Regions from separate parts of the Homo sapiens genome. Here all the other regions are linked to region 1. The links are contacts of gene promoters, found by promoter capture Hi-C in human tissues and cell types (Jung and others, 2019). All regions are on one chromosome and are shown on one strand. The core of a region is centred on a gene start or on the middle of the fragment in contact, and the rest is flanking DNA. Distances in the headings are between cores, read along the strand shown.

What was found. The method cuts DNA at HindIII sites, captures the fragments that hold promoters and counts their contacts. A contact is called where the count stands out against the background at its distance.
Region 2: a fragment that was not itself captured here is called in contact with the fragment with the promoter of PAQR5 in region 1 in 3 of the 25 tissues and cell types used here (IMR-90 fibroblasts, dorsolateral prefrontal cortex and small bowel).
Region 3: a fragment that was not itself captured here is called in contact with the fragment with the promoter of PAQR5 in region 1 in 2 of the 25 tissues and cell types used here (adrenal gland and aorta).

Annotation. Positions count from the first base shown.
Region 1 is chr15:69,297,462-69,300,161 of GRCh38, reverse strand. It overlaps PAQR5 (progestin and adipoQ receptor family member 5), which reads right to left and starts at 1,250. Exons shown (of 9, transcript NM_017705.4): 1 at 1,106-1,250. PAQR5-DT (PAQR5 divergent transcript) reads left to right here and starts at 1,399. Exons shown (of 3, transcript NR_184010.1): 1 at 1,399-1,684. The HindIII fragment of the contact is 6,076 bases long and covers 1-2,700 here.
Region 2 is chr15:69,223,487-69,226,367 of GRCh38, reverse strand. The region is part of intron 2 of GLCE (glucuronic acid epimerase); the gene reads right to left. Among named protein-coding and RNA genes, the nearest start is that of GLCE, 64 kb to the right of the region's middle. The HindIII fragment of the contact is 3,998 bases long and covers 1-2,881 here.
Region 3 is chr15:69,195,477-69,198,211 of GRCh38, reverse strand. The region is part of intron 1 of GLCE (glucuronic acid epimerase); the gene reads right to left. Among named protein-coding and RNA genes, the nearest start is that of GLCE, 36 kb to the right of the region's middle. The HindIII fragment of the contact is 3,496 bases long and covers 1-2,735 here.

The sequences.
Region 1 (2,700 bases), core at 1-2,500:
ACCTAGGGGGGTGGGGAGTGGGGTAAAAGAAACAAACCTCTGCTGAGTCAAGGGCACTGCAAGAATGCAGAAGCGACCATGCAGCTCTGGAAGGATGCGGTGGGAAACCCGCCACTCAGTGGTGGAGAAAAGCCCACCAGTTTCTCCAGCAAATGGCTGAGCTTTGTTGGGCCTCCTTGTCTTCTCATCTGCCCATGTGTTAATATCTACTCGCCATTGGTTTGTTAGGTTCAAATGAAATCAGGGATGTGTCCCTTTTTGGCTGCTAGCTCTTCTCAGATCCCCTGACCTCTCCCCATCTCTTCTCTATGGCTCTGCGTGGGAAGGGGCAGTTGTCACCCCCGACTCCCACTAAGCTGAGCCCTCCTCCCAACCTAAGCGGGAGGAAGCCGGTTCTGCTCACGGATAAGAGTTACCGGGCTCCTGAGTTCTTGTTCTGCTGGGCCGGGGTCCACCCCCTCTCCTGGGCTCATCCGACTAGGACTTGGGAAGTGCTAGGGGAGCCAGGAGATGCCCAGCTGGGGGCTGTGGCCGGGGGGAGGCCAATGACAGAGCAGGGGGAACTCCCTGTAGCTGGGCACCCACTTCAACAGGGCCGGGACGACCCCCGCAGGCAGTGGGCCGCCCCTCACCCACACGGTCCTGCTCAGCCCAGGCTCACATCTGGGCTCAGGAGGCGGGAAGCACAGGTGTAAAGAAATCGCCAACTGTGCAGCCCCAATCCAAGGGTTTTATTAAAGTGGGGGCGGCGGGAGGGGGGCGGTGGAGGAAGGATAAGCGGCGCAAACGCCCTGGAGAGTGAGAGAAAAGGTGCGAGAAGGCAACAGCTCCCCTCACCGCCCTCGATTGCAGCAGAGAGCCTTCTGCACGGCGGCGGCCGCCCCACCTTCACACCGGCCCCGCGTGCGGTGAAAGTGGCCGAGCCGCGCCGCCGCCGGATCAGGGCCGCCCCGGCACAAACTTTCCCAGACCCGCCCTCGGAGCGGCCACCCAGGCTCAACGGGCTCCACGGGCGCAGGGCGGCTGGGGCTGCCGCGGAGGGCGGGTGCGCGTGGACCGGGAGGTGGGGAGGCGGCGCGCGGCGGGGAGTCCCGCCCCGGGTTACCTGGGTTCCAAGGGTCTCGGGAGTCCAGTGGACAGGGCGCGGGGACAGCACAGGCAGGCCGGAGACCAGACACTCCTCCCGGGCTGCGGCGACCCCGGACTCGCGGGCCCTGCACCTGGCCCTGCGGGTCGCCGCGCCTACCCATGCCGGTCCCCGCCCGTCCCCTCCCGCGCGGGGCGGGGCGGCCCCGGGGGAGGAGCCGAGGGCCGTGGGCACCACCCCCTGAGCCAGGCCTGCGCCTCATCACGTGCCACCGACCCTGGGCTCTGTGACTTCCAAAGACTCGCCACCCCATTCCACAGCCTGAGGTGCCACCAAAGCCATAAGCCCAGGGGAGTCTCTCACACCCCATTCTCCTAGGGCCCATGTACCCCACGCCCACCTCCACCCCAGGAGCCGAAGGCCGGCAGGGAGCCTGGAGAGCCTCCTTGATGGGAGAACTGCGGAGCTTGCCCCTCGGAAAAGTGCATGGGGTGGAGAACAGGGAAGGAGAAAAAAACAACAACTGGGTACTCGCAGCCCCACCGCGGTGTCCGCTTCGCCGGTGGGAGAGGATCCTCGCCGCCCTGAATCCTTGAAGTGAGTTCCACCCCTGTCTCTTGGAGTGCTCAGGGTGGCGGGCCCTTTGCCAGCCCTCACCCTTTCCCCAGGGATCCTGTCCCAGGTCACAGGCTCCTAGACTGGAAGGCGCTGGGCCTGGACCTCTGCCACTCAGTGGACACAGCTATAAGAGATGAAGGGACACAGAGGACAAAGAAGAAACATTTGGCTTCAGGGAACCAGACTCTGTGTCTCCTCCCAGGTGCTGAAGGAACAGGTTGCAGCTACCTGGTGCCCCCACCCCGACCCTGCCAGAGAAAGGTTGGAACATCCACACCTGTGGACCGAAGTCCCCCACCAGGCTCTTTCCTCCCACCCTTCAGCCCCAGGCTCTCTGAGCTCCTGCTCCTCCCTGCCTTGCCTTGTTTGCTGAGGGCACACACAGTGGAGAGAGCACAGGACTGGGAGTCCAGAGACCTGGGCTCTAGTCTACTCTGTGACTCGGGTCAAGTCTCTGGCCCTTTGTGGGCCCAAGTTGCCCCATTTGCAGTGAATAGGTTGCAGTCAATTATCTCCGGCCATTTTTACGGATCCTGAACCGTGGTCTTGGGCACCTTGCTTTATTAGGCTTTTTGGTGGCTGTGCATCTTGTAAGGGTGTGTATGCATGTGCGTGTGTGTGTGCGTGCGACATGCGCTTGTCCTCTCAGACCCAAGTTCTTAAAGGGAAAGAGACTGGGGCCTACACAGAGGCAGGCATGTATATTCCACAGACCAGAGTTTGACAAGAATGACTGGACACAAGAGTGGAGCCCAGTCCCAGCTCTATGCTGAATTCAGAGTAGCCTTGGACAAGACCCTCACCATCTACAAAATGGAGATTAATAATCCCTGCTTTGCCTTTCCAAGGCTAGTCGGGGGACTCAGTGAGATATTAGATATGAAGCTCTTTGAAGGGGAATAGCACAGGGATGTGTGCTTTTGATGTCTGGGCCAGTGATGGGTTTGGGGGAAGAATAGGGTGTGAAGCATTCTCTGGGAGGCAAAGGCTGGCAC
Region 2 (2,881 bases), core at 111-2,610, 74 kb after region 1:
AATATTCCTTTGTCAGTGTCTATTTAACTTAATAAAGTACTCAGAATTCTATCTAACCTAACACTTCCAACAACAGCAGTGTTTGGAATATTGCCAAAATCATGTTTATTACTTATGAAATAGAGTTTTGAAATGTTCATAATCTGGAATAGAAGTAATATTTGTGTCAAATACTCAATTCTAACTCAATTCACCTAAAGGTAGGTAGTTTAAGTTACAGAAAACGCCATGATCCCAAGATGGTCTAATAACTGTATCTAATAACAAAAGATTAAAATAGGTGTGTGTGTGTCTGTGTGTGTGTGTGTGTGTGTGTGTGTCTGTGCATGCGTGCACACGTGTATGTGTTTAGAGGAGGGAGGTTTGATGAATTTAGGCCCTTAAGTCCAATAAAAATTGGAAACGTCATATATGTAACACTGGGAGGCAGTATAACATAGAAGTTAAGGATGTAGGCTTTTAGCTGTTTTTTTCTGGGTTTGAATCCTGGCTCTATCACTTATTAACTCTGTGTATTTAAGAAAAAGTTTAACTTGTTTATATCTTAGTTTCCTCATATACCATATGGATTTAAAGAATACTTCATAATGTAGTATTAAATGAGTTAATGTACATAAATTGTTTAGATCGATGCCAGGCACAGAGAGAGTACTCAGTAAATGTTAGGAAATATCAGCACTACCACTCTGAAATCAGTAAAAGAATCCTTAGTATGCAAGTCAAAGTTCAAATCTACAAATTTACACATAATTTACAGGAAGTTGTGCATACTTTCAGTCTAATGTCTACTCAAGTTTCAAGACCTTCATTATTCCACAAAAAAATTATTGCTTATACATGATAACCTAATCAACAAGTGTTTACTGAATACCTACTAGGCACTGTGTGTACAAACAAGAGGCATAACAACTGCCCCTCAAAACCTTATAATTATTAACAAATTATTTAGACTATGATATAAGACCATATTTAATTGAATGCTGAACTCTGTGGTACAGAATATAAGTCCTGGTATATCCTAATGTTTACTGAAGACTAAGAGGACAGGGACTTCTATGACAGCCGACGCAAGGATGCCTAGCTTACTGCATACATTCCCAAAACTAAGGGCTTACTCTTTATTATGCCAACTGTAGGGCAGATGAAATAATCTAACCCCTCTCCACCTCTGCCCTGCAAAAAAGAAAAAAAAAAAGCTTTAAAATATTTGGCTAATGAAGCTTTTATTCCTAATACCAATAATCATACCTTTTTAGACATATTATATCACTATGGGTATATGTAGCACCATAAGCCATAGAACCACCAGCATAGTTATCTTGGGCTGCCATTCTAAACACAAAAAACAAAAATCTGATTTATTAGGAACCAAAAAACTATATCACTTATGTTGAGTTTACTATTAACATAATTTCTGCCATAAGAAATCACAGAGGGATTCAAGAAAGATGACAAAGTAGGAACCACCAGGAATCTGTCTCCCAACTTAGACAACAACTGCACTGGCAGAATCTGTCTAAAGTAATTATCTTGGAACTCTGTAGTCCACTGAAGGCTTGCAACTTCCAAGAGAAGGACTAAATGATAAAGTGCATTAATTTGGGTCATTTTCAGCTCTTAACACTGTTGCAGCAAGCCATCCTCCACTCCTAGCTCCCTGGCAGGCAGCTGTGCATGTGCTCCTGGAGCAGTTTGTACTCAGCTTGCAGGAGCCCACGTAGGCAAAAAGGACCTTGTCCTCCAGGTATGGAGATCTGTACTCTGATCACTGATTGTTGCCAAAGATCACATGGGTGTAGTCAAAGAGGCTGCCAGCCATTGTTGTTGCACCTCCTCCCGGTGTTGCAAGAGCCCCCCTGCTCCCCTGAAATGACTTCCAGGGAACTTAAAGGGCCAGAGCCAATTTTTCTTCCTGTATTTATTTTTCTCTTTTTCTCCTTTTGGGAGCCAGACATTAAAGACTGGGACATTCAAAAACAACTGTAAATATGGACAAAACTGGAAAATGATCATGCATGTCCAGGAAAAGATGCAAAGAAAATACCTGGGAAGACCTTAAGTTTATATTTCTATCTCTGACATAGGCTGATCCCTGTTTCCTTACCCAGTCTACAAAAACCAAAAACAATAAACAAAAATAATACTAAAACAACCAGCCCTAGTGAAAGGAGAAAATCTGATTTCCAGACTTAGCACATTAATAGATTTAAATGTCTAGTTTTCAACAACAACAAAAAATCACAAGGCATACAAAGAAACAGGAAAGTATGGCACATTCAAAGGCAAAAAATAAATCATAGAAATCGTCCTTGAAAAAGACCTGATGGCAAATCTACCATAGCTCTTTAAATGCTGTCTTAAAGATGTGCAAAGAACTAAAGGAAGGTGCAGACAGAATCAAGAAAATGATGTATGAAAAACGTGTAAGTATCAGTAGAGCTACAGAACCTAAAAAAGAACCAAAGAGAAATTCTGGAGCTGAGAAGTACAAAATGAAAAATTCACTATATAGATTCAAAGGCATATCTGAGCAGGCTGAAGAATCAGCTAACTTTAAGATAGGACAATTGCAACTATGACTCTGAGGAACAGAAAAAAAAAAGACTGAAGAAAAATGAAGAGAATCTAAGAGATCTGTGGGACACCATCAATTGGATGAGTATATACATTGTGGGAGTTTTGAAAGGAGGAGAAAAGAGAAAGAGGCAAAGAGATCACATGAATAATGATGAAAAACTTCCAAAGTTTGATGAAAGACACGAGTATAAACATCCCAGGAGCTCAACAAACTCCAAGTAGCATGAACTCAGAGACCCATATTGGGATATAGTATAATGAAACTATCGAAAGCCAAAGACAAAGTGAGGATCTTAAAATCAGT
Region 3 (2,735 bases), core at 191-2,690, 100 kb after region 1:
GGTGAGACATGTAAATAAATGTAATAAAGTATTTTAGGGGCTCTGATAAAAGCATACATGTGTTTGAATGCCACATGCAGGGTTTTTTAAAAAAAAGAAAAAAGTATACATGTGAGGGGTAAGGTACAGACATAAGAAAGGATATGTATATAAAAAGGCTCAGGCACTGATGTTCTTTAAAAGGGAAGAATGTGAATTATAAGCATCAAAGAAATACAATGGTCACTTTGGAAAACTAAAGGTAATCCCAATTATTTCCCACCTATTCAAGAAAACTGCTGCAGCAATTTTCTCTTCCTTCTACTGCATTGTCAAATATTCCCTCTCTACTGGATTATTCCTGTCACATTAAACATAGAACCAAAAAATTTTTTAAAGCCCACTCTCTTAACTCTACACACCAAATGTGCATAGTTCCCCCTTTACAATAAAACTCAAAAGTGTTATCTACACTCACTGTCTCCACATCTCCCATTTTCTCCTGAATCCATATCAACCAAGCTTTTCATCCCATCTGTCTACCAACTTGCACTTATTTAAGGTCACCAACATCTTCCACATTGCTAAACACAACAATCGATTCTCCGACTTCCTCTTATTTTACCTATGAGCAGTAGCTGACACAAACAATAATTCCGTCCTTGAAATACATGGTTCTCAAAATACCCACCTCTACTGGTTTTAATCTTATTAGGTTGGTGCAAAAGTAATTGCGGTTTTGTACCGTGAATTTTAAATCATTATATTATAACTAGGCTCAAACACATCTTTATTCATCAAAATAGGAAACATTACAATCAACACATTTTTGCCAATGAGAAATAAGTTTATTTATTCCTGTAGTGTAAAAATGTGTGATCTGGGATTCGATAAACTCTTGGAAAGCTTTTTCTGCATTCTGGTTGTGGAAACATCTTCCCTGCAAAAAGTTGCTGAGATGCTTGAAGAAGTGGTAGTCAGTTGGCAAGAAGTCAGGTGAATACGGTGGATGAGGCAAAACTTTGTGCCCAATTCATTCAACTTTTGAAGCGTTGGTTGTGCGACGCATTGTCAGGCATTGTTGTGCCGAAGGACTGGGCCCTTTATGTTGATCAATGCTGGCTGCAGGCGTTGCAGCTTTCCATGCATCTCAGAGATTTGTTGAGCATACTTCTCAGATGTAATGGTTTTGCTGGAACTCAGAAAGCTGTAGTGGATCAGACCGGCAGCAGACCATCAAACAGTGACCATTAACATTTTGGTAGAAGTTTGGCTTTGGGAAGTGCTCTGGAGCTTCTTCTCAGTCCAACCACCAAGCTGGTCATCAGCGGTTGTCATATAAAATCCACTTACCAACGCACGTCACAATCTGATCAAGAAATGGTTCATTGTTGTTACACAAAGTAAGAGAAGACAACACTTCAAAATGACGATTGTTTTTATTTTCAGTCAGCTCATGAGGCACCCACTTATCGAGCTTTTACAACCTTCTAATTTGCTTCAAATGCTGAATGACCGTAGGATGGTTGATGTTGAGTTCTCGGCAACTTCTAGTGTTGTAAGAGGATCAGCTTCGATGATTGCTCTCAATTGGTCGTTGCCAACTTTTGATGGCCGGGCACAACACTCCTCATCTTCACGGCTCTCGTCTCCTTTGCAAAAGTTCTTGAACCACCACTGCACTGTACCTTTGTTAGCAATTTCTGGGCCAAATGCATTGTTGATGCTGCGAGTTGTCTCTGCTGCTTTATGACCCATTTTGAACTTGAATAAGAAAATCACTTGAATTTGCTTTTTGTCTAACATCATTTCCATAGTCTAAATAAATATAAAATAAACAGCAAGTAATAAGTCATTAGCAAAACAAAGCAAGAAATGCACATTAAAATTATGTATAACATAACCACATTTATTTAATAATGTATTCCAATACCAAACAGCAAATTTAAACAATGCAAAAACCGCAATTATGTCTGCACCAGCCTAACACTCCATGCTCACTCCACTTCAGTCACACTAGCCTCCTCCTTGTTCCTTGAACATACTAGGCACACACTTTCCTCAAATCTGTTACCCTTGCTATACCTTAGAACAGGAATGTTCTTCCCTGAGATATCTGTACAGATTCCTTGTAGGTCTTCACTCAAATGTCACAATCCTTCCCAGGCCTGCCCTCCTCCAACTGCCATGCCTTCCAACACTCCCCCATCCCCTTTCCCTCCTTTATTTTGCTATCTGATACAGTATATATTTTATCTGTTAGTTTCAGTTTCCCTCTCAGCTAGAATGTAAGCTCCATAGAGGCAGAAATTTTTGTCTGTTTTGTTTACTGTTGTATGTGATACAACAGTACCTGGCAATAGTAGGAATGGTATTAATATTTGTTTAATGAATGAATGAACCAACCAAGGGAATTCTCTCACTGATTTAATGTAATATAGGGGAGTAATTTAATAGTTTCAAAGGTACCAAAATATTACATTCATATTTCAATCATTGTGATTTGTGTTCTGACAGATTTAACACCCTCATTATACACACCAGGGCTATATTAAATTAGTTTGCATTCCCCTGAAAACATACCAATCAGGAGAAAACATCCAGAATTGTCTTAGACAACAAGGAGCAACACGACTGATTTTAAAAAATAGTTTTCCATGGATAATCTAAAGTAGACAATCCACATACAATATGTCACAAAATCTGATACAGACTTTCAAAGTCTAGAGGTGAAAGAGAAGGTAAGTAAAAATTTC